Regions from separate parts of the Homo sapiens genome. Here regions 2, 3 and 4 are each linked to region 1. The links are contacts of gene promoters, found by promoter capture Hi-C in blood cells and fetal thymus (Javierre and others, 2016). All regions are on one chromosome and are shown on one strand. The core of a region is centred on a gene start or on the middle of the fragment in contact, and the rest is flanking DNA. Distances in the headings are between cores, read along the strand shown.

Region 1 (6,956 bases), core at 2,437-4,936:
TCGAGACCAACCTGGGCAACATGGTGAGACCCCATCTCTACAAAAAATGTAAAAATTAGCTCGGCATGGTGGTGCCTGCCTGCAGTCCCAGCTACTTGGGAGGTTGAGGCAGGAGGATCACTTGAGCCTAAGAGGTTGAGGCTTTAGTGAGCTATGATTGCACCACTGCACTCCAGCCTGAGTGACAGAGTGAGACCCTACCTCAAAAAAAAAAAAAAAAAAAAAATCAACACACTCATTGACTTCACTAAGGAAGTTCTAGGCAGCAACCCTAGCTTCCACTCAACACTTTTGCCAGGTTCATTTATTAATATCCTGCATAATCAAACTCTAGAGACAATAGTTGGGGAAATGCTAGCTTAGAAAGTTTACTTGTTGGCCGGTCACGGTGAATCATGCCTGTAATCGTAGCACTTTAGGAGGCCGAGGCTGGAAGATCACTTGAGCTAAGTAAGGAGTTTGAGATCAGCCTGGCCAACATGGTGAAACCCCATCTCTACTAAAAATAGAAAAATTAGCCAGGCATGGTGGCAGGCGCCTGTAATCACAGCTACTTGGGAGGCTGAGGCATGAGAATTGCTTAAACCCAGGAGGTGGAGGTTGCATTAAGCTGATATGGTGCCACTGCACTCCAGCCTGGGCGATAGAGCAAGGCTCACTCTCAAAAAAAAAAAAAAAAAAAATCACTTTTTTATGGCCATAACACCTTGAACAGGCCTGACCTCTTCCGATTTTAGACACCAAGGCGTGTAGGGCCAGTTTAGTACTTGGATGAGATCCCACCTAGAAATATCAGGGTTTTAATTTATTTACATTAAAAAAAAAATAGTCCAGGCGTGGTGGTTCATGCCTGTAATCCCAGCAATTTGGGAGGCCGAGGCAGGCATATCACCTGAGGTCACGAGTTTGAGACCAGCCTGGCCAACATGGTGAAACCCCATCTCTACTAAAAATGCAAAAATTAACCCTGTGCGATGGCGTGGGCCTGTAATCCCAGCTACTCAGGAGGCTGAGGCAGGAGAATCACTTGAACCCGGCAGGCAGAGGTTGCAGTGAGCCGAGATCACGTCACTGAACTCCAGCCTGGGTGACAGAGACTCCATCTTGGAAATAAAAATAAAAATTAAAAATTAAAAAAAAAGAAAGTTCAGGCTGGGTGTAGTGGCTCAGGCCTGTAATCCCAGCACTTTGGGAGGCCAAGGCGGGTGGATCACCTGAGGTCAGGAGTTCAAGACCAGCCTGGCCAACATGGTGAAACCCCATCTCTACTAAAAATACAAAAATTAACCAGCCTGAGTAGCTGGGATTACAGCCTGGCCAATATGGTGAAACCCCGTCTCTACTAAAAATACAAAAATTAGCTGGATGTGGTGGTGGCCTGTAATCCCAGTTACTCGGCAGGCTGAGGCAGGAGAATCGCTTGAACCCAGGAGGTGGAAGTTGCAGTGAGCCAAGATCATGCGATTGCACTCCAGCCTAGGGGACTGAGGGAGACTCTGTCTCAAAAAAAAAAAAAAGTTCACTGTGTTTACATTCATTTCAAATACTCACCACACCTGTAGTATTAATATGTGACAAGCATGGGCTGGGTGCTGTGGAGTTTGCCGTTGGGACTGAGCACCTGGTCGAAGGCAGCCTCAACTGCACACACAGGTCTCCAGGGCTGAGAGCGTGCACATGAAGTGGAATTAACCCAAATTTGGATCTGGCCCAGCCCACCTCACTAGAAGTTGAACCTTAGGGAAAATCACAAAACATCTTTGAACTTCAGTTTAGATTCCTCATCTGTGACATGGGGGTACACAGATAACGACTGCCATACATGACTTGTGATTATTTTAGGGCTTGATGTGTATGTTGATCTGGATCCTGCCTCTTTCTTCTCCAACTTTGCCTCTTAGCCCCCAGGTGCATTTTCCTGCAGCCTCCTCTCCTCCTCCCGCTTTTTTTCTGTGTCTTGAATGCCAAACTCATTTCCATCCCAGGCTCTTTGCACCTGCTGCTTCCTCTGCCAGGAGGTGCTCCTCCAAATATTTGCATCTCTGCTTTTTGTTTTGCTCACTCCTTCATTTTTCTGAGGCAGGGTGGGGAGGCACTCCATTTTTCTTGGGGGTTTCACTGTGCTGTCCAGGCTGGTCTCAAACTCCTGGCCTCAAGCCATCCTCCTGTGTAGCTGCTTAGCGGGGATATAGGCACCAGACACCCTGCCCGCCTGCTCACTCTTAAGTCTTCTTCTTGGGTTTCAGCTCACACCGCTTTCCTCCTCAGAGATTTTTCCTGGCTATTCGCACACTGTCTTCATAATCTTTCTCTTTTGTATTGTTGTTTTTGACACTTCTTATCTAATACTTTACCAATGTGTTTATTTTTTAAAAATCATTTCTTCTCATAAGGATTTGTTCAGGGCTGTAGCTCCTGGACATGGGGCAGTGCCCAGAAGAGTGAAGAGCTCAGTAATATGTTGAACGAATGAACCAAATAAGGTGGCTTGAAAAGGGTGTAGACTAGTACAGATTAAAAACAAATCAACATTAGTGATTACCGTTTTATACCTGTTATTATAAGATCTGCATATCAGAAGAAGGACTGTGTGTTAACATTTGCATAACAAATTGGCTCAAAAAAGTAATTGGTCCAAAACAATAGTCCCCTATCAAAGGTGAGGTTAGGCTCCAACAATGCAAAACTGAAGTTACTGGCAGCTTTGAAATCACAGACCCTCTTCACTCTCCCCACCCACAAGGTTTACAAAAAATTCTTAGGCGGTTTTCCCCCTGGCCAAAATGTGACAGCTATTAAAATGGCAGGTTTCAGGTTAGCCAAGTGAGAGGCAGACATGTGTTTCAGGGGACAGGAAGGTTATTTCCACCGTGTACAAGTGGATGCTGCTTTGGACACTGATGGACAGGTAACATAAAATGGGCGAATCTGCAGGGGGATGAACTGGGAGGAAAGTATTTTAGGTGGAGGGAGCGTCTCATAATTTCCAACAGAGCCACCCCAAATAAACCTTGAAGCCAAGTAAGAGAACGGGACCTGCATTAGGAATGCAGCAGCCTCAGGTATGTCCAACCACATGGCCCCCCATAAGGTTTTCCTAACCATTTTGGAGCCGCTACTGAATTTAGGTGTGGAGGAAAGCAAGAGCATGGATTCTATTATCCCCACTCAACTGAGTGGCAAGATATAAGGCTAAGGCTCAAGAGCCTTGAATGTCAGGACAAGGGCCCTAAGCCTTTAAGCTCTCTAAGGCGATCAGTGAATGGCAGTGTAAGTAAAGTAGTTTAGGAGGAAAGACCGATTTGGAGAGTCCAGAGTGAAGGCTGTTGACAGTCCAGGCAAGAAAGAGAGTATAGAGTCCAGAATTGGGAGAGAAGTAATATGAATTAAAAAAAGAAGGGTGGGCCTGAGTTGCCTGGGTTAGAAGTTTCCGGTGGGGCTATGCAATCTGAAGAGCTGCAACCTAAGTTGGGCGGGGGATTCATGGGGCTTGTTCTAATGCTTTTTTGCTTTTTGGCTGATGGGATGCAAACTACTATGTGCCTCTTCAAAATAATAGCCCCTGGTGTCTACTAATCATATCATGAAATAGAAATTGTGAAGGCACTGTATCTTTTAAAAAAAATCCCCTTTTGAAGAACTTCCTTAAAAACAGCTATTTAATGCAACTCTGCCAGTATGTTCTTGATGGTTATGTCTTAACAATTCTAATTTTTAAAAAAAATATTACTATTTTTTTTCATCAGAGCCATTGCACTGGAAAATAATTTTTTATTTTCATGATAGCCTACCGTTGAATTTACCGTTCTGATATTAATGAAACATCTCTATAAAGGGTTGAAGTGTCTTCCCGGTAAGTTCTCAGCTTATGTTTTTCTAAATATCTTCTAATCACTGTTCATTTTTTCCTTTGGCCTAATGAGTGTTTCTCACTGTCTGCGTGTTCAGATGCAAGAAATATTAAGCAATCATAGTAATCAATAATGTTTTCAAGCTTTTTCTTCCTTTTAGATTTGCTACTTGTAATAGCTGCGATAGTCTTGTGGAGCATTTTAGTCAAAGAGAACATGTTCATTTTTAAATATTTAATTCAAAATACAACATTCAGTGCTTCTGCACTTTTGAGTCAAAGCAGTTAATTGAAAATCACTGACATGGCTTTTAAAAAATATGTGCTACTGATAATATTCACTAAAGACCATGAGCCGAAGAGTGATTTCTGGATTTTCTTCTATTTTCTTTTAACTGACATGATGTAATGATTTCAAAGAGCCAAGCAGAATTTTGATATTTAATATGTTATGTTGATATATGATGGATATATATAATATTGGCATTAGATTACATCATCTCATTTTATTATTCAAAGTTAAACACTAAAGAGTAAACACATTGTGTTTGCGGGTAAATACTAAGAAGATAAATACTTGCATAAAAAGAACTGCTGGGTTTACTTAATGGAATGATAAGCAATTTTGGACCCACCACAGTTCTTTTTATTATGTGGGTTGGTTTTTGTTTGTTTGTTCCCTGTGTTGGTCTATAGAACGTAGAGTTAAAAGCATTTAATTGTGGGTCGGTGTGATAATTGTTTCTCTAAAGCAAAATCAGAATTACTTAGAGATAAGAAAGTAAATAACAAAATTATAGACGAGTTTTCTTAGCCTAGGATTCAAGCAAGTCCAAGGATAGTCTTCACAGGCTAAATTTTATTTGCAATATAAGTCCAATTTTCATGGGAGGAAAAGGATGGCTTTTGCCAGATTCTCAGAAGGCAATATAACACCAAAGAAAGGTTTTTTAAAAAAGCCCTATTTTTATAAAGCTATGCTAAGGTAAAAAGGATTTTGATTTTCAGAATTTTAGAATATTTAAAATAATTTTGAAATACTTATATATACTTTTGAGTTATTTCCACTTTCTCTTATCAATCAAGCAGCTCAGATAATTAAATATATAGCTATTTTAATATTTAAAGCATTTTGTAATCATGGAAAAGCAAAAAGAAATGTTTGTAGAAAATTTCGTAGAAAAAAATTTGTACTCATCAAAGAGAATTCAGGAGGTACTCTTGGTTTATGTAAGGTATTTTCAGAAAATATTTTTGAGCAAGATCTTATTCAGAATCAAATTAGAGACTGCATTTAATTTTGCTTTTTAAATATTAAACTTTTTCAGGATTGTCAACTTATTTTATTTTATTTTCTTCAAGCAACAATTGCTAAGGAACAGAATTGTCAATTTATTAATGAAATATGGTAAGCTGACATTTTAATATTTTCTTTACTCTGTCCACAGAGGAGCTCTACAGCATAATAATTAAAAAACTTTTTTCTTTACTCTCCCTCCATTTTAAAAATAAAATATATCGATCATGTTAATAAGGATATGAAATAGTTTGCAAAGCAATTCAATTTTAGGTCTTGGAGACATAAGAGCATTTCATTTTTAAACAACAATTCATAGGTTCTGTTTCATTGAAGATATTTCCTTGGCCCTTTTTTTCTAAATCACTCTCCTCTGCTCTACAACTCCTTGCTAAAATTTTGCAATAATGTTAAATACTGTACTATAGAATGAATACCATTCTCTAAATAGTATACTATAATGGAGTGTGTTTCAACTGTGATTGATTTTGTGCCTCAGGGTACATTTGGTGATGTCGGAAACATTTTTGACGGTCACAACTGTGAAGGTACTACTGGCAACCAGTGGGTAGGGGTCAGGGAAGCTGCTAAACATCGTACAATGCACAGGCAGCCCCCCTGACAACAGAGACAGCCAACACCAAATGCCCATAGTGTCAAGATTGAGAAACCCTCCTTTAGACTAAATACTATTTTAAATCAGGGAGATTAAGTTTAATTGGTAATTCGAAAACTCCAGAATTCTATCATTGTTCCAACAGACGTGTGTTGAACAAGACAAGCTGGGTCAAGCATTTGAAGATGCTTTTGAGGTTCTGAGGCAACATTCAACTGGAGATCTTCAGTACTCGCCAGGTAAAGATGAGTCATTTACCCTCTTCTGCTGGTACATCAAATGGCTTGTTGGTCACATACACATATAAGAATAATGATCAGCTGACCAGGTGCTGTGGCTCACATCTGTAATCCCAGCACTTTGGGAGGCCAAGGTGGGCAGATCACTTAAGACCAGGAATTCAAGACCTGCCTGGCCAATATGGCGAAACCCTGTCTCTACTAAAAATACAAAAATTAGCTAGGCATGGTGGCGCGACTGTAATCCCAGCTACTCTGGGGGCTGAGGCTTAAGAATTGCTGAACCTGAGAGGCAGAAGCTTTAGTAAGCCGAGATGGCGCCACTGTATTCCAGGATAATGATCAGAACAGAGAAGACCTTTTTTTTCTTTTTTCTTTTTTCTTTTTTTTTTTTTTTTGAGACGAAGTCTCACTCTGTCGCCCAGGCTGGCGTGCAGTGGCGCGATCTCGGCTCACTGCAAGCTCCTCCTCCCGGGTTCACGCCATTCTCCTGCCTCAGCCTCCCGAGTAGCTGGGACTACAGGCGCCCGCCACCATGCCCATCTAATTTTTTGTATTTTTAGTAGAGACGGGGTTTCACCGTGTTAGCCAGGATGTTCTCGATCTCCTGACCTCGTGATCCGCCCATCTCGGCCTCCCAAAGCGCTGGGATTACAGGCATGAGCCACTGTGCCCGGTGACCTTTTTTATCTTTAATTTAATTTTTATTTGTTTATTTTTTTGTAGAGACAGGGTCTCACTATGTTGCCCAGGCTGGTCTGGAACTCCTGGACTCAAAAACGAGATCATTTTTACCTGAAGCATCCAGGATTAATTCTAGCAAAGGCAAAATATGTCCAGGAGTATCTAGCCTAAATAAAACTAAAGTCTCACATATAAAAATGCAGAGAATATAGAGGATGACATTCCACACAGAAATACAAAGATATATAATTATCTGCTATTAGAAATATC
Region 2 (6,956 bases), core at 3,339-5,838, 370 kb after region 1:
TCACTTGAGCCCAGGAGTTCGAAACCAGCCTGGCCAACATGGCGAAACCACATTTCTACTAAAAATACAAAAATTAGCCAGGTGTGATGGTGTATGCTTGTAATCTCAGCTATGTGGGAGACTGAAGCAGGAGAATTGCTTGAGCCTGGGAGGCAGAGATTGCAGCGAGCCGAGATTGCGCCACTGCACTCCAGCCTGGGCGACAGAGAGGGACTCTGTTTCAAAAAAAAAAAAGTTCCAATCACAGAGTTGTATAAAGTTTTGATGAATTGAATTACAGTGTGTTATTAAAGGATATAGAGAATAACCCTATGTTTTGAGGTAGAGCTCATTTGGAAAACTTTCTAGCTTGGGATCATTTTTATATAGTGGAATATACTAATGTCAACTTGGTTTTAAAACCTCTGTTATTTCTATCATTATTGACTCTGGTTGTTTGTTTGCTTCATTTTGTCTACTACTTCTTTGTATCTTTTCTCCCTTTGCCTAAATAACCTTTTCTTTTTTTAGAGACAGGGTCTCTCTGTCACCCTGGCTGGAGTGCAGTGATACCATCTTGGCTTACTGCAGCCTCGACCTCCTGGGCTCAAGCGATCCTCCCACTGCAGCCCCTGGAGTAGCTGGGATTACAGGTGTGCACCAATATGCCTGGCTAATTTTTGTATTTTTTGTAGAGATGGGTTTTCGCCATGTTGTCCAGGCTGGTCTTGAACTCCTGAGCTCAGGCAATCCACCCATCTCGGCCTCCCAGAGTGCTGGGATTACAGGCATGAGCCATTGTGCCCAGCCTAAATAATCTTTTCAAAAACCAGCTTCTGCCAGGCACGGTGGCTCACAATGGAATCTGGAAAAGAAGGCTGGCCCAGTAGTCCCAGAACCTTGGGACACCAAGGCAGGAGGATTGCTTGAGGTCATGAGTTCAAGACCAGCCTGGGAAATATATCGAGATGCCCTGTCTCTACTAAAAATACAAAAAATGTGCTGGGCATGGTGGTGTGCGCCTGTAGTCCCAGCTACTCAGGAGGCTGAGGCGGAAGAATCACCTGAACCTGGGAGGCAGAGGTTGCAGTGAGCTGAGATTGCACCACTGCATTCCAGCCTGGGCAACAGAGTGAGACTCCGTCTCCAAAAAAAAAAAAAAAAAAGACAAAAAAAAAAAAAAAACACACCAAACAGACAAAAAAAAAACCCAGCTTCCTGTTTGGGTCATTCTCTCTAATGTTCTGTGGTTTTCTATTCATTGATTTGTGTCTCTGTCTTGGTAATTTTCCCCCCTTATTCTGTTTGCTCTGTTGCTCTGTTGCTCTTGAACTCATTTTTCAAATTTAATATTTAGCTCAATTTTTTCAATTTTATGGTTTTTTAATAAATGTTTTCCAAAGCATAAATGTCCCTCTAATTACTAATTTTATTGCATCCCATCAATATTGGCACAGAATGCAGGTGCACAATTGGGAGTTGGGGCACTGCAGTGGGTGTCAGGCCTGGGCACACAATGTACCCATCAGGAGGACCAAGGCAAGGAGGTCACCAGGCCTAGGCCAGGGTGGCAAGGTTCTGAGATACTGTGATCTCTGGATACGCATGGCTGCTGCAGAGCACAGCTGATGTCCTCCCATACTGGTACCCTAACCCACCATGTGGCAGGAAGAAGAAAACACAAAAACCAAACAATGAAATCTAGAAAAGAAGAGTGGCCCAGTGGCTCATGCCAGTAGTCCCAGAACCTTGGAACACCAAGGCAGGAGGATTGCTTGAGGTCATGAGTTCAAGACCAGCCTGGGAAACATATTGAGATCCCCATCTCTACAAAAACTTTTTAAAGAAAGAAATTAGCCAGGCATTGTGGCCCGTGCCTGTAGTACCAGCTACTCAGTACTCAGGAGGCTGAGGCAGGAGAGTTTCCTGAGCCCAAGAGTTTGAGGCTGCAGTGAGCTGTGATTGTACCACTGCTCTCCAGCCTGGGTGACAGAGCAAGATCCTGTGGAAAAAAAAAACAAACAAACAAACAATAACAACAACAAAACAAACAAACAAAAAACCCAGGAACAATGCCTCATGCCTGTAATCCCAGCACACTTTGGGAGGCCAAGGTGGGAGGATCACTTGAGCCCAGGAGTTTGAGATCAGCCTGGGCAGCATAGTGAGACCCTGTCTCTAAAAAAATAAATAAATAAAAAATAAATGGGCACACCATGGGGTAGCCCTGCTCCACAAAGAGCAGTAAAAAAATTTTATGCCAAATAAATAAATATTTTTAAAAGGACGGAGGAAGGGAGGGGAGCAAATATGGAAAGAGTTGGGGCGGGGGGTGATGCCACCTTCTTCCTGCAACATTCCTTCATCGCCCTCTACTGGCAAAGCTTCACATCACACTCACTGCAAAAGAAACGCTTCAAAAGAAGTCCAATTCATTAATACACAGCAAGTTCTGAAGGAGTGAATTTGGAACTGAGAGGCAACAATTGATTATTGGCATATCCTTGAAGCCAGGGTTCTAGGTGTGGTTGAAGTTCTCCTAATCAGGTGAATTCACAGAAGATTTCAACCTGGAAGTAAGCTACATGGAGAGAGAGAGGCAGTGCAAAGGGCGCCTGTTTTGGCTGGAGTGAGTGAGTCAAGGCAGGTGTGGTGCAGTTGGAAGCAGCTTCCTGCCTCTGTAGAAAGCATCCTGATCCTGCTCTTTCTGATCCCGGCAGCGTCAGTAGCTCCCTTGACAGCTTAGTTCAGTGGAGTATTAGGACCTGATCTTACAAATTCAACCTAGTAGTCTCTATCTAGAATACTGTCATAGGTAAAGGCTCTTTGTTCAGACCTCCTGAGGGCTTATGGGTAGGCCAACTTAATCCCTTTCTGTTTAAATCAGTGAATAGATTCCTTAATCTACAAATAATTACCCTGACCAAAATAAGGTAAGAGAACATAGCTTGTATAATAGTAAAACTCCTTGGAATTCATTGACTCTTCCTTCGTTGCCTAGCACATTGTCCATTTTTGTAAAGTTTCAGGTTTGCTCAAAAAGAAAATATTCTCACCAATGGCTTTGGCTCATGCCTGTAATCCCAGTGCTTTGGGAGGCCAAGGTTGGAGGGTCGCTTGAGCCCAGGAGTTTAAGACTGGCCTGGGCACATCGTGAGACCCATCTCTATGAAAAGAAAAAAAATTAGCCGCGTGCAGTGGCTCACGCCTGTAATCCCAGCACTTTGGGAGGCCAAGGCGGGTGGATCACCTGAGATCAGGAGTTCAAGACGGACCAGCCTGGCCAACATGGCGAAACCTCGTCTCTACTAAAAATAAAAAAATTAGCCAGGCCTGGTGGCGCATGCCTGTAATCCGAGCTACTCAGGAGGCTGAGGCTTGAGAATCGCTTGAACCCGGGAGGGGGAGGTTGCAGTGAGTCGAGATTGTGCCATTGTACTCTAGCCTGGGTGATAAGAGTGAGACTCCATCTCAAAAAAAAAAAAAATTAAATTAGCTAGGTGTGGTGGTACAGACTTGTAGTTCTAGCTACTTGGGAGGCTGAGGAGGGAGGATCACTTGAGCTGAGAAGTTTGAGGTTACAATGAGTTGTGATAGCACCACTGCACTCCATCCTGGGCAAAAGAGTAAGACAAAAGAAAAGAAAAGAAGGAAAGGAGGAAGAAAGGAAGGAAGGGAGAGAGAGGGGGAAAGAAAGAAAAAGAAAGAAAGAAAGAAAAGAAAGAAAGAAGAAAGAAAGAAAGAAAAAGAAAAAGAGAGAGCGAGAGAGAGAGAAAGAAAGAAAGAGAGAGAGAAAGAAACAAAGAGGCTGGGCTCAGTGTTTCACGCCTATAATCCCAGCACTTTGGGAGGCCAAGGTGGGCGGATCACGAGGTCAGGAGATGGAGACCATCCTGGCTAACATGGTGAAACCCCGTCTCTACTAAAAATACAAAAAATTAGCCGGGTGTGGTGGCAGGCGCCTGTAGTCCCAGCTACTCGGGAGGCTGAGGCAGGAGAATGGCGTGAACCCCAGGAGGCAGAGCTTGCAGTGAGCCGAGATCAGGCCACTGCACTCCAGCCTGGGCAACAGAGTGAGACTTTGTCTCAAAAAAAAAGAAAGAAAGAGAGAAAGAAAGAAAGAAAGAAAATTCCCTCTGTGTATTTTTCTGTCTGTCTTGTCTCTCCTGTCTCCCCCTTAGTTCCTAATTTCTTCCCTGTTTAAGTTCTCACAAACCTCAGGATCAATATGAAGTCCACTGTGATGTACTTTGCAGAATCTACCTATTTGCAAAAGCTAACTCCTACCCTCATCTTTGTACCTGGTGTTTGAAAACTGGATCAATTTTCTGATCTCCAAGCATTTGGAACTTTCTTTAGTTTTCATCTCCTTAAAACCAAAGCTTCCAACCCCACCGGAAACAAACAAACAAGCAAACAAAACACCCAAAGCAGTGAGCACTCAATATATATATTTGATTATCCATAAATGCTGATTCTCTAATTCATTGCAATGTCAAGTTCATAATTAAATAGGGAGACTTTTGCATTTTGCATAGTCTGCTTTCCAGAATACTGTCAGGGATACTCTGATATTTTGCTATAATGCTTTGGCAGTGCTCTAGATGTATTAAACTCACTGTAACCAATCCCAGGAGCACAGTAAAAGTCCAAGTGATGCCAACCAACAAGGAAATTTCAGAGTTAATTTATCCAAAGTATAAATATCACAGTGAAAGAGTAATAACTGGTGCTTCTGACATTTTAGGCTAAAGGAACGAATAAATGAATGTGGCAAGAACCCCTAGATTATACCAAAAGAAGGGTGAATAATTATTAGGGTTAGTGTGAATAGAGAGAAGCTTATGAAAAGGAAAAAGATTTTCTGTTGTCTTTTCTTCTGTCATCAAGTTCGAACCAGCTGCAGGTTTATCTCAATTGCTCTGCTATGAGGTGCACGTAAAACAAAAAGATTCTAAAAGCTACATTATAAGTCCCTTCCAATGTGGACAGCCCTATTCCTTTCCAAGGCCTATATATTCTTTGGATTCTTAGTTTAAAGCAGCAACATTAAAATTGTAAATGAGATAAGGCAGGACTGGTTTTACCATTTTCACATCTTACATCATATTAACCTAGATTCAAAGTAAAGTCATTCTTGTTGGATTTATTTTCGTGTCACACAATATGCAGATTCACCACTAATTAATTTTGAGAATTCTCCTCTAGAAACGTGCTTTTTTATTAAGATAAATTTCTCTCAAATAAGGTTAAATAAACAAAAAATCATGGGTCAAAGCCTCATTGTCTGCTGAGCAATCATGTATATTGCTTTAATTATTCTTCCTCAATTTCCTTGAAAATTCTCTATTTAACTTTATTGAGATTATAATTAAGATCCTATAAAATTAGGCCAGGCGCGGTGGCTCATGCCTGTAATCCCAGCACTTTGGGAGGCCAAGGCGGGTGGATCACAAAGTCATGAGTTTGAGACCTAGGCCAACATGGTGAAACCCCATCTCTGTAAAAAAAAATACAAAAAATTAGCCAGGCATTGTGGCGTGGGCCTGTAATTCCAGCTTCTCAGAAGGCTGAGGCAGGAGAATAGCTTAAACCCAAGAGGCAGAGTTTGCAGTGAGCCAAGATCGTGCCACCGTACTCCAGCCTGGGCTACAGAGCAAGACTTTGTCTCAAAAAACAAACAAAGAAACACACACACACACACACATATACACACACAAAACAAGATTCTATAAAATTGACCCATTAGCTGGGTACAGTAACTCACATCTGTAATCCCAGTATTTTGGGAGGCCAAGGAGAGAGGATCATTTGAGCTCAGGAGTTCCAGACTAGCCTGGGCAACATAGTGAGACCCATTTCTACAAAAAAAAAATTTTTTTTAATTAGCTAGGCATGTTGGCACACACCTGTAGTCCCAGCTACTTGGGAGGCTGAGGTGGGAGGATTGCTTAAGCCCAGCAGGTCGAGGCTGCAGTGAGCTGTGATCATGACACTAGATTGTAATCCAGCCTGGGCAACAGAGTGAGACCCTGTCTCAAAATAAATAAAATAAAATAAACTCATTATAGGTGAACAGTGCCACTATATGTGCATGCCATTTGTGTGCTTTCTTTGCTGAAAAGTCTTCTTCAAACCCTCTGCCCACTTTTTAAATTTGGTTAACCTTCAACAACCTGGCATCTACTCCTGCTTCTATTAAAACTAACGTCTGAAATAATGAAATGCAGTGGATATAGTGAATCCTAACTAACAAGTCCAGTAGTATATTTTGGTTTATCTTCTCCTTGACCCTCCTGCAGTATTGGATGTCTTCAATAATCTTTTCTTGAAATGTTGTCTTACTTTGGTGTCCAGGACAGAATACGTTTCTGATTTTTCTGGAAGATCTTTGATGACTTCCTTTTCTGGGTTGTAGTCTACCTCCTGCCGTTTCTAGGTGGTGGTTCAGTTCACATAGACTAGACCTCTGCCCTCTGCTTTACTTCTACATTTTATTTCATGGCAACTATAATGTCTTCAAGAAAATTTCTAGATTAGCCAGGTGTGGTGGTGGGTGCTTGTAGTCCCAGCTACTCAGGAGGCTGAGGCATGAGAATCTACTGAACCTGGGAGGCACAGGCTGGAGTGAGCCAAGATTGCGCCACTGCACTCCAGCCTGGGGGACACAGTGAGACTCCATCTCTAAAAAAAAAAAAAAGAAGGAGGGAAAAAAAGAAATTTTATAGAAGGCAGTGAGATATCTGATGATGTCATCAAGAAACTGGTGTTATGTAAGCATGGTGAGAGCTGGAGCCGTGGGAAGGAAACTAAATGACAGGCCCTACCATAGTGGAGGGATGCAGCACTGTGAGAAGGGATGCAGCTAGGCAGGAGAGAAACACCCCTTTGATCTCTTCCTGGTGCCTCCCATTGGTTGAAACCAGAGGTTAGGAGAGTCTGTGTAAAACCGTCCATGTGGTCAGCAAAGGGTATGG
Region 3 (6,956 bases), core at 4,457-6,956, 320 kb after region 1:
TGTTTTGTTTTTTAAAAATCAGTTTTACCAGATCCTTTTGTAGTTCATTAGCATGATGACTGGGTTTTCATGCTCATATGTGAGATGTGCCACCCTCAGACCTTATTACATCGCCACATTACCCATCTGATGTGAAAAAAAAAATCAGTTTTACCTCATTGCTTTCTGCTCCTCCTCCATCTGTTCTCTGACCTGCTGTAGTTCCTTCAGTAGTTCAAGATCTGTGCCATTCACCCAGGTGTAAACAACGTCAATCGGCATGGGCAGACAAAGCCTAGGGCAAACCAACAAATCCTCCAGCTTAAATGCATTTTTCCAATATATTTGGTAATAAGAATATCACAGGGTTTAAACCCAGAGATTATGAAAAAAATCTCTGAAGAAGTAATCCAACCATGACATATTATCACAGAACTGCATGTTTTCAAACTGTAGCTGGGGGGCTAATATTTGTCAAGTACCTCCTCTGTGAGTTGTATTATGCTAGACACTTAGGTAATTTGCATCACCTGATGCACACAGCCACTCTGTAAGAAGGCTAATATTAGATTTAAAGATTGTTCGTGGGTGAAGTAGAGTAGTCTTGGAAGTTCAGTTTACATTAAACTGCCTGTTCTCATAATTTAGCAAAGAAGGGAGCTGGGATGCAAATGCCGTCAAACATAGAAAATAAATTAGAAGTTTAAAGAACAAAATTACAGGCTCTGCACAGTGGCTCACGCCTATAACCACAGCACTTTGGGAGGCCAAGGTGGGAGGATCACTTGAGCCCAGGAGTTTGAGACCAGCCTGGGCAACATAGTGAGAACCTGTCTCTACAAAAAATTTTTAAAATTAGCTGGGTATGGTGGTGTGCATCTGTAGTCCCAGCTACTCAAAAGGCTGAGGTGGGACTACAGTGAGCTATGATCGTACCACTGCACTCCAGCCTGGGAGACAGATCAAGGCCTTGTCTCTAAAAAAAAAAAAAAAAGAACAAATTACAAAAAAAGTTATCAAAACCCACAATGAAGACCTAACCCTACTTAATGCTGTAGCCTTCTTGTGCCTTGCTCCCCCGCAAGCCTGCACCCTCCCCAGCCTCACCTCTGCTTTTCCTTTTTTTTTTCACAGCACTTACTACTTTTGTAACATATTAAATAATTAACTTGTAACCTATTCCGTTAATTATGTGTGGCCCTCTCCTAGAATGTAAGCTCCAAGAAAGCAGAAAACTTTCATGCTTTGTTCTCTAAAGTATCTGTGCAATGAGAAGAGTGCCTGGCACACAGGTGACCAATAAGTATATGCTGACATATGAGACACTAGTACAGAAGACCTTCCTGAACTTGCACCATTTCTTCCTGATCATCTTGTCCTCATAATAAAGAGTCAGGCAGGCTTTTAATTCTTGAGTATGTTGTTTAAGCCTCACCTTAGTGATTTTACCCAGATTTTATCCCTGCCAAAAGCACTCTTCCCTTTTCTCTCACTACCAAAAACCTACCCATCTTTCAGGGGCCTGCCCAGATGCATGCCACTTTGACTTATGACACAGGAGTTCATGTGTACATCTGGGTACTGATACTACTTTAGATCAGCAGTGTCCAATCTTTTGGCTTCCCTGGGCCACAGTGGGAGAAGAATTGTCTTGGGCCACACATAAAATACACTAACACTAAAGATAGTTGATGAGCCAAAAAAAAAAAAATAATAAACCACGCAAAAAAAAAAAAAATCTCATCATGTTTTAAGGAAGTTTACAAATTTGTGTTGGGCCGCATTCAAAGCCGTCCTTGGCCACATACGGCCCACAGGTTGGGCAAATTTTCTTTAGATAGTGCTATTTCAAGTTTAGTACTTTCCAAGAAACTGTATGGGTTTTGCAGTTTTATTTTTAGGCCAAGGACCAAAGCATACCCTCCTTTTGTCCTCCTCACAGCCCAGGCACAGCCTAGACTTTCAGTTGCTACCATATTATCTCGTGGGAAAATAAATGCTATTTGGTAGCTAAATCTTTTGAATTATGGAAAGAAAAAAATTAACAGAAATGAAACAACCTTTAGCTTACAAGAAGTAGGGGAGATAACTGGATGAGTTTCTCCATTCACTGAATAATTCTTATTGAGCGCTTAATATGTGCTAGGTACTGTTCTAGGTGCTAGGGTTTCAGCAGTAAATAAAACAAAGCCCAAATCTGTGCCTTCACGGAGCTTACATTCCAGAAGGGAGAAGACAGGAAGTAAATCAAATAAATAAAGTCAGATGATGTTAAATGTTGTGGAGAAAGTAAAGCAGCAAATGGGGATAGAAAGAGTGTCTATGGGGAGGCGGGGCGGTCAGTTTTAAATAGGGAGATCAGAGATGGCCTCAGTAAGAAGGTGACATTTCAGCAAAGATATGAAGGAAGTGAGGAAGCCAGCCAGGTGGGTAACTGAGAGAAGAATGTGCCAGAGAAAGGGAACACCAAAGGCAAATGCCCTGAGGCAGGCGCCTATCTTGCTTGTTCAAGGACCCAGAGGCGAGTTCCCTGAGCAGAGGGGAGAGAGGAAATGGAAGAGAATAGTTGAGATGAAGGTCAAAGAGATAACAGAGTTCCAGAGCTTCATCTGGAAAATAAGGAATCACCTTATTCTCTGGCATATGTGATAGCTGAGTACTTACCAAATGTCTTGTCAAGTTTCACCACTGCCTGCAGAATAAGGTCTAAAGTCTTTCATAATCTGCACCTTATGTTCTGGATGATCCAATTGTATACCCTTGTCCAAAGATGAAACGAACTTGCAGGACTTTGTACCTTTGAATATGCTTTTCCTTCTGCCTAGAACATTCTTTCTTTCATGCTTCCTTTAACCACCTCCTCCTTCCTCAATTCCCTCCCTTCCCTCACCTCTCACAAAGAGAATCTATAGCTTCATATGCAGCTTCCACACTACTTTGAACTGTAAGGAATCCTGATTGTACTGTGCTGTGCTATTTTCCATGCAGCCCTATCTTCCACTAGATGGAGTATCTCTAGGGCAGAAATGTTATCATGCATTCTGTGCCCTGCTTCATTAATTATTTCCTCTCTTTCCTACACCTTCGGGCTCTCTCTCCCTACTGTAATGATTTGCAAAGGTTTCCCTATCTAGGGTTTTTCTGAATTTATCAATAAATAAATTCTAATGTTTGTAGAATTTCCTTTTCTCACAAGCTCTCAGGTAATGCTGATGTTGCTGGTCCAGAAATTGCACTTTGGGAACCACTGATTTATATGTAGGTTACACACTTCGCTTTTTTTCCCCACTAAAATGCCAATTCTATATAAGGCCAATGAGTTCATTTTGTTCACCACTATATACCTAGGGCCTAGAATAGTTCCTCCTACATGGGTGGGGTTTAATACATATTTATTGCCTAACTATTAGTTCATTCCTTTATCATATATATCAGTCTTTCTCATTTAAAAAAAAATCCATCTGCCTCACACTGCCCACATGTAAATTATCCAAGGTCATCTCATTCCCAACCTCCCAGGTGATTTATGCTCAGTCTAAAAATAAATTTTAAAAAACTGCTTCAGTGATGTGTTTTTAAAAGAAAAGGTTAAAGGAGAGGAGAATTACATCTTAAGCTTTCCTGTAACTAAATATTTCCTGCTACTAAATATTTTTAATATATCATTTATATTATATTATTTAGCTGATTAAAACATAATATACTGCATGTATTACATGATCAATTTAACTTTGGCAAAACTGACAAATGGAAGGAGACTGTGTGATCTGCACGAGGTCAATGAGTCAGTTGTTTTCCTATTAGACATGGTCACACTCTGAATCTTTCATTCTAACCACTAGACCACTATCTTGGTTCACAGATGAGAAGGAATGCATTATCTTGGAGCTGAAAACTAAGACTAAGTCACTCATAACTCAGAACCAAAGCAGCAATGACACTGACATAACTTTCATTTTAATCACTGTTTAGTTTAAGTGAATATTAAAGCCACTTAACAGTCCCTTGGTTCTACATTCTATAAAGTAGGTGAGAAAACAGAGAACTTAAATAGTATTTTGTCTTACTTATTTATTTATTTATTTATTTACTTATTTAGAGATAGAGTCTTGCTCTGTCGCCCAGGCTGGAGTGCAGTGGTGCCATCTCAGCTCACTGCAACCTATGCCTCCCAGGTTCAACCAATTCTCCCTGCCTCAGCCTCCCAAGTAGCTGGGATTATAGGCAACCACCACCGCCCTGGCTAATTTTTGTATTTTTGGTAGAGACGGGGTTTCACTATGTTGGCCAGGCTGGTCTTGAACTCCTGACCTCATGTGATGTGCCCACCTTGGCCTCCCAAAATGCTAGGATTACAGGCGTGAGCCACCGTGCCTGGCCTTCAATAGTATTTTAGAACCAAAGAGTTGGAAGAGATTGTAGTCTTAATCTAATACAATAGCTCTTAATCTAATATCCACATTTTACAGATGACAAAATTGAGCCTCGGATTGACTTAATGCCTCACAATTAGTAGCAGTGAATAGTTTATATATTCACTTTTACTGACATATGGAATGGGATTTTTTTCATTCAGAGCAAACAACCTTAAAAAGATTTATACTGGCCAGGTATGGTGGCTCACACCTGTAATCTTAACACTTTGGGAGGCTGAGGTAAGAGGATCGCTTGAAGTCAGGAGTTCGAGACCAGCCTGGGCAATACAGCAAGACCCCATCTCTATTAAAATAAATAAATTTTAAAAATAAAAAATCTGTACAGAAACTAGCAAAATAATGAAAATATATCAATGTTATGGTATCTTAAAATATATTAGACCATGTGAAATGTTATATATGATCCATTTATTTGTCATCATCAAAATGAGGAAATTTTGAATATATGCCTACATAAAAATCAAACTATATTTTAATGCAACCTTCTAAACTTCTTTAGAAAGAGAACAAGAGTGTTTGATTAAAACTGCTGACCTCAAAATCTGCATTTTCTAATAAGCTAGTTTTCTTTCTAAAAGTTTAAAGCAGCTGGGCATGGTGACTCATCCCTTTAATCTCAGCACTTTGGGAGGTCAAGATGGGAGGATTGCTTGAGTCCAGGAGTTTGAGACCAGCCTGGGCAACACAGTAAGACCTCATCTCTAAAAATAAATAATTAATTAATTTTTAAAATCAATTTAAAAATTTTTAAAAACGTTTGAAGCTTCTTCGGGGCAGGGATCTATGCATCTGTGCACCATCTGCACGTGGCACAGCATAAGGCACAAATCAATAAATATCTGATTTTAAAATGTTAATCAATTTAGAACTTTCCTTAGGGAAATTAACTTGTTAAAGTGAAAATTATATTTCATTAAAAATCCTTTAATGCAGTAGTTTTCACAGTGGGGGCACCAGACCAGCAACTTTGGTATTACCAGGAAGTTTGGTAGAAGTGCAAATTCTCAGAACCCCTCTGAAACCTATACGCAGAAACTCTGGGCTGGGAAGTAACTGTTATTTTCTTAAGCCCTCCACTGCAAGCTAAAGTTTCAGAACTGCTATATTAAGGAATGGTCCTCAAACTTTTACTGTTTGGTCCCTTAAAATTAAAAAATTAGTATGGACCCCAAAGTGCTTTAGTTTATAAGGTTATAATTATCCACATTTGCCATATTTGAAAATAAAACTGAAACATTTTAAAAATACTTAATTCATTTTAAAATGAGAATAGGCCGAGAGCGGTGATTCATGCCTGTAACCTCAGCACTTTGGAAGGCCGAGGCGGGTGGATCACCTGAGGTCAGGAGTTTGAGACCAGCCTGGACAACATGACGAAATTCCGTCTCTACTAAAAATACAAAAATTAGCTGTGCGTGGTGGTGCATGCCTGTAATCCCAGCTACTTGGGAGGCTGAGGCAGGAGAATCGCTTGAATCCAGGAGGCAGAGGTTGCAGTGAGCCGAAATCGTGCCACTGCGCTCCAGCCTGGGCAAGAGTGCAACTCTGTCTCCAAAAAAAAATAAAAATAAAAATAAAATAAAATAAAATAAACACCTTTTATAATGAAATTACTACATTTTCTAAAATAAACCAAAAAAATAGTGAGAAGACAGAAACAAAAACCAGAAAGGACTTGTGTGATTCATTTTATCTGCAAAAAGGGAAGGAGGGTGTTGAAAAAAATTGTTTCCATTCTGAGGTCTGTCTTGTGAAGAGGAAAAAAAAAATCCCCAAAGACAAGAAATGGTGAAGACTGCGTTCCAGAATGGCGGCACTAAGAAGCTTGGCCTTCCAAGGGAAAGACCCACACTAATGAGGTATGAGGCTATTTGCTCCTCCCTCATAGGTAAGCAGCAAGAGTGACCAATGGAGTGGGGTTCAGCCCCAGTGGTTTACTGGGGAGTGGTCCCATTTCACAGGACGCTGTCAACAGAATTCCGGCCAGGGCTCAGAAACCGCTGTGTAGTAGCCACCTGGTTTCCTCATCCTACAGGGGGATGAAATTCCCTTTACCTCACAGACCTGGGGAGACAGAAAATGCAATCATGCAATTTAAGGTACCCAATAAACTACAAGGTGGGATTACTCTCTGTGAATCAGATTTTTCACCCACAAAATGTGGTGAACACACTTTTCTTCAGATGGACATATTTTCTTTCCTTATTTTAAAAAAATATCTTACGGAATACTTCATGAATTGGTGTGTCACCCTTGCACAGGGGCCACACTAATCTTCTCTGTATCGTTCCAGTTTTTTTTTCCTTTTTTTTAGTATATGTGCTGCTAAAGTGAACACATCAGATGGGCATACTCCTGAGTAAATTAAACCATATCTATAACTCAGAAAGACCCCTTAAACTGTCATATTTACAGGATGGCTATTTCATGACTTACGATTTAGGTCCAAATAATAGATTTCTCCAAAATAGATCTTACCGATTCTGAAAGGACTTTCCAGCAATATTGTCTCTATAGGAATCAAACAAAACATGGTATTGA
Region 4 (5,104 bases), core at 1,903-4,402, 290 kb after region 1:
AGGCTGACTTGGACAAATTGTATCCTTTCAAAGTGATGTCTCCATGTTCCAGTTGCAAATCCAAGGTATTGAGACTCAACTGGGCGTCTTTTGGAAGGAGTGAAATATTTACCAGGGGAATTTTCACCTCTTCCTGGGCTCTCCTTGTTGAGTTAACATCATGTCTCTTAAACTTCGGGAAGCGTTTTTCTTTGGGAATATCCTCAAAAAGGATTTCCGCCTCTGGAAGAAGTGTTATGGGACTAACTAAATTTTCGTAACCCTTCTGGGCTGTAGAATTCAGTTTTGGTCCCTCCCTTGTGTCCACCTCCACTGTTATCTGCATTTTGAACTCTTCATCGTTTGTATTTTGAAACGTGAGATTAAAATGTATTGTGGTGGCATTCATTCCACTGTGCATTATGAGGTGGATGGTTTTCCACTTGTTGGCAATAGAAGCATGTCGAATTATTGGATTGTCACTATAGGCACCTTCAACTCCTCTTTTGGCTACTTCTGCAAAGCTGAAATAAGGCAGGCATTCACCTTTTGGAATAATATAGTGAGTCTGGTTTGGGAGAAGGATCACTTTATACAATTCATGAAAATGATCTAGAGGAAAAAACAGAAACATGATTTTTTTTTTAACTGGGCATTTTTCCTCTGTTTTCCTTTAATTCTTTGAGTCTGAGTTTTCACTTTCTTTTAAAAAAAATAATAGGGAATGCATCATGAATTTGCATGTCGTCCTTGTGCAGGGGCCATGCTAATGCCTAAACTGTTCTAATTTTAGTATATGTGCTGCTGAAGTAGGCACTGAGTTTTCACTTTCTAAGAGTGACTTTAATTTCAAAATAATCAGATATCCTAATACAACAGTTACTGGTATAGGGCTTATTTCACTATCTGAGGCAGTCACAATAATTACCATGAAATAGTGATCCTGACTCACTATAGAGATATGGCATGGTTCTTAACAATAAATTACAATAATCAATTTCCATCTTTTTATCCATTTGAAAAAAACTTTCTGCCAAAACAAACTCCATTAATACGCTATCAACAAAATCCAGTGTTTGAACCATCTTTATTTAATGAATTATTGATATCCTTTTTTGTTTCCAAATTAAAACTTCACCACATATTTTCAGCTAAGGTAAATCTGCTTGGTCCAAACAAAACAAAACAAAACAAAACACCAGACTGCAACAATAACAGGAAAAGATCCTCTTCAGTGATTTATGTTGTTCTCTTACTTTCATAACTAGTTTGAATGCAAGGCTGGTAAAGGGATACACAGAGAATCATTATTTTAAATAACAAAAGCCATTCAAAACTCTCTCTACCTGTCAAGGATGTTTTATGCTCCCATTCTTATTTGTTTGGCAGTAAACATACCTTGCCCACAGTCGCCAGCATCAAACCCACAGGACAAGACATTGCATGCTTGGTCACAGAACTTATCAGCGAGCCAGGAATTCGCACATCCCTGATTACAGTAAGAGACACTGTTTATTCCTCCACCAAACTGCCAGGGCTGTCCAACTCCAATACTCCCAGTACCTCCACCTCCTGCAATATAGCGACTCCCTCCACTGTTTCCTGTAGATCGGAGGAAGAAGAGGGATTCTTGCTGTAATTACAATTTTGAAAGACAGTTCTGGACTGGGTGTGGTGGCTGACGCCTGTAATCTCAACACTTTGGGAGGCAGAGGAGGCTGGATCACCTGAGGTCAGGAGTTTGAGACCAGCCTGGCCAACATGGTAAAACCCCATCTCTGCTAAAAACACAAAAATTAGCTGGGCGTGGTGGTGGGCGCCTGTAATCCCAACTACTTGGGAGGCTGAGGCAGGAGAATTGCTTGAACCCGGGAGGCGGAGGTTGCACTGAGCCAAGATTACACCACTGCACTCCAGCCTGGGCAACAAGAGTGAAACTCCGTCTCAAAAAACAAAAAACGAAAAAGACAGTTCCTTATTTCATATTGATGTTTTCAAGGTTGATGTGTAAGTTTTAGTCAGAAAAGGTTCACCTCATTCTTTAGTAGAAGATCTCATATACCTTAAGAAGAAAATAAACGTAAAAGGGAGTCACTTGACAGAAGCGTGATGAACAGGCCCTGGCATTTTGTAGCTGTGCAACCTACAAGTACAGGGCTTACATTTGCTCAAGGGGCACGTGCTGACAGAAATGGAGGAGCACGAAAACAAGAAGAGATTATTCCAAAGACTGTGACTATCAGAACTGCCAAAAACATGTCCAAACGTGGGTAACATGTTTGATACCCCTTGTTATCAAATGCTAATGTTCCAGTAGAGACTGACTTCTCTGGTCTACACAGATCTACTTTGCACATCTGTATTCTCTCTCCTCAGCTAAAGCGCATCTGACATATCTGACTGAAATACAACTTGAAGCTTTGTTTTCTCCAATATTCAAACATTTCCAAATCCATTTCTTCATATGGAAATGGGGATGATAACATTTGTGTACATACTTACTCTCTCTCTCTCTCAGGTAACAAACACAATTCAAGTGAATATAATGAATAATGCTCTATAAATTTAATGCTTTATAAATTGAAAGGTAGTAAGTAAATGTAACAAATTGCTATTATCAACAAGTCAAAATATAACTATGTGAGGGAGAGGGAAGAGCTGCTGAGGAGAGAAAATACTTATTTCTTTTGCAACTCTTTAGTAATTCTGTGACCTATCACAATCTGCTGCTGAAAGCTACCAGCAGTGAGCTCCTATAAGAACCAGTTAGAGTGATTCTTGCTCTTGGATTTATATAAGTGTATTCCAGATTTTCATATTTTAAATAAGAAGACATTTTCAAGTGTATTTTCTCTTGTTCAATGCCCTCAACAATGAATAAACTGGGCCACATGAGGGCACTAATTACCACCTCCAAAGAGTCCATTGATTACTGATTTGTTTGTTTTGAGAGAGGCTGTCACTCTGCCGCCCAGGTTAGAGTACAATGGTGCAATCACAGCTCACAGCAGCCTCTAACTCCTAGGCTCAAATGATCCTCTTGCCTTAGCCTCCCAAGTAGCTAGGACTACAGGTTTGCACCACCACACTTGGCTAATTTTTTTTGATAGAGATGGGGTCTTACTATGTTGCCCAAGCTGGTCTTGAACTCCTGGCCTCAAGCACTCCTCCCAGCTCAGCTTTGCAAAGCACTGGATTATAAGCATGAGCCACCATGCCCAGCATTACTGATTCTTTATTAATACATAAAGAATGTTTGGTTAAGTCTATAGCACATGTTCAATAATGATTAAGAAGAAAATATTCCATAAAAATGAACGAATTACAGTTTAACACATCCTTACCAGAGCAATCCCCACCATCCCAATCGCAGGCTGAATTATTACAAGCCTTGTCACAATAGCCATCCTTAATCCAGGAACCTGGGCAGCCCTCGGCACAGTTTGGCACAGGCCATGTCAAATAAACCTACGATAAAACCAAAGAGAAAATAAAATGACTTCTGGCTTCTGATACATTTTATTCTTGAGTTAAGATTCCCTTTATAAAAAGAAATTAAGTCTCTAGAAAGATTAAAATTTTCAAAGGGCTCAGCGTTCACACTCACAAGTGCTTTAAGTTTGCCTGTACCTACAGTCATTGTTTAGATCCTGCTGCGTTGACCGTTCTTACTGAGCGTATTTACTTTTTTTCCATTACTCAAGGAAAGCAGACAAGGATTCAACTCATGGATTAGTCTCTCATAACATGCTTTGATAATCTACTATGAAATAAAGTAGCACCATGCCAGACTTGACTGCAAGTACCAAAGCATGTCAAAGCTGGTGGGAAGTATGCACAGTCACTGCTTTTCTGTAACTATCAGTAGCTCATTAGTGTATTTGTGCATAATCTTGTCTCAAGGCTGAGAGACAATATCCTCTCTCTTCAAGCTTAAGGCCCTGTGATAAATTAACTGGCATAGCATTCTGAGCTGTGCATTCACCTGCTCTCAGAATTAGTGATGGGGTACATGGTTTTTCAAATTTAAAATCATTGAAAAAAAATACACTCCTCTTTAAAAATCTCTGTGCCTTTGCATATTCTAATTGGAATGTCTTTTTTAACCTAAACTAATTCTTACTTGTTCTTCTCAGTACATGTCAATTCAGATGGGCTTTCTTCCCTATCCTATCTGATTTAAGCCTCCTTTGCTCACACTCCTCAGCACCAAGGCACACCTGTCAGCAGGAAAAGCACCACACAGTCATTGATCTTGTTTGTCCCCTTGTTAAGCCACAAGCTCAACTTTGAGCCCTACAGTCTGATACAGAGGAGACAACTCAATAGGGGAACAGGAGAATGGGCCTGGTTGGGTAGCATAAACAATTACAGACAAAGTAGTTTTGTGTTATTAGCACTTACAGTTGCAGAGTTTTATAACTTCTAAGTTTACGGTGATAAGTCTCTAACTTATCACTGAACCCTTCTAACAACGCTACAAGGGTATTTGTACTTTCCTCACTATGCCAGAAAACACAGAGGTAGAGCCACTGCCCAAGGTCATCCTGAAGAGTTGGCCCCTAAGTCTGTACTCTTAACCACTTCTCCATCCCACCTCTCACAAAGTTAGAGTGCAACAGGCTACCTTAAATGAAATTACATCTATAGCTTTAAGCACTAACTTGAGTTAACTTTCTATTTTGGCCATTTTGCTGATATTCTAACCATGATTGTCTGTTTCACAGTGATTTTGCTTTTTCTGCTATCGTAGTAGAAAATTGAGATGGTTGGGAAAAAGTGTGGGTCCTGGGTGTCTAAGAATGCAGGAAAGCAAATTTCTAACTGTAGTGTTCTTACTTCTTAATTGCTGATTTCTGAGCTTAGCACTCAAAAATGATTATTTGATCTCATATATCTATATATATTTTTTTATTTTTCAAGATCCGGTTCTCACTCTGTCACCCAAGCTGGGGTGCAGTGGCACAATCACAGCTCACTGCAGCCTCAACATTCAGGCTAAAGCAATCTTCCCATCTTGGCCAGTGACCCCCTACTCCCCCCACGGCCCCCCAACACCCAAGCAGCTGGGACTACATGAGTATTCCACCGGGCCCAGATAATTATTTTACTTTTTGTAAAGACA

The links. Contacts are between HindIII fragments. The CHiCAGO score rates a contact against its expected background, and 5 or more counts as called.
Region 2: a fragment that was not itself captured here is called in contact with the fragment with the promoter of SPIC in region 1 in 3 of 17 cell types (total B cells, monocytes and naive B cells); the score reaches 7.0 in total B cells.
Region 3: a contact is called between a fragment that was not itself captured here and the fragment with the promoter of SPIC in region 1, in 2 of 17 cell types (M0 macrophages and M1 macrophages). The highest score is 5.7, in M0 macrophages.
Region 4: a contact is called between a fragment that was not itself captured here and the fragment with the promoter of SPIC in region 1, in 3 of 17 cell types (naive B cells, M0 macrophages and M1 macrophages). The highest score is 7.5, in naive B cells.

The regions. Positions count from the first base shown.
Region 1 is chr12:101,471,650-101,478,605 of GRCh38, forward strand. SPIC (Spi-C transcription factor) reads left to right here and starts at 3,687. Exons shown (of 6, transcript NM_152323.3): 1 at 3,687-3,853; 2 at 5,179-5,258; 3 at 5,909-6,002. The coding sequence starts at 5,256. It also overlaps the pseudogene RNA5SP367. RefSeq lists an enhancer at 2,332-3,027. The HindIII fragment of the contact is 10,024 bases long and covers 1-3,992 here.
Region 2 is chr12:101,837,598-101,844,553 of GRCh38, forward strand. No RefSeq gene overlaps it. Among named protein-coding and RNA genes, the nearest start is that of GNPTAB, 10 kb to the left of the region's middle. The HindIII fragment of the contact is 459 bases long and covers 4,360-4,818 here.
Region 3 is chr12:101,789,784-101,796,739 of GRCh38, forward strand. It overlaps GNPTAB (N-acetylglucosamine-1-phosphate transferase subunits alpha and beta), which reads right to left. Exons shown (of 21, transcript NM_024312.5): 2 at 6,894-6,956; 3 at 155-274. It overlaps LOC124903105 (small nucleolar RNA U13), which reads left to right and starts at 32; the gene lies at 32-132. It also overlaps the pseudogene RNU6-172P. The HindIII fragment of the contact is 1,061 bases long and covers 5,177-6,237 here.
Region 4 is chr12:101,764,714-101,769,817 of GRCh38, forward strand. GNPTAB (N-acetylglucosamine-1-phosphate transferase subunits alpha and beta) reads right to left here. Exons shown (of 21, transcript NM_024312.5): 11 at 3,324-3,447; 12 at 1,378-1,581; 13 at 1-591. It also overlaps the pseudogene RNU6-101P. Among named protein-coding and RNA genes, the nearest start is that of SYCP3, 28 kb to the left of the region's middle. RefSeq lists an enhancer at 2,788-2,957 and a cis regulatory region at 2,873. The HindIII fragment of the contact is 1,514 bases long and covers 2,396-3,909 here.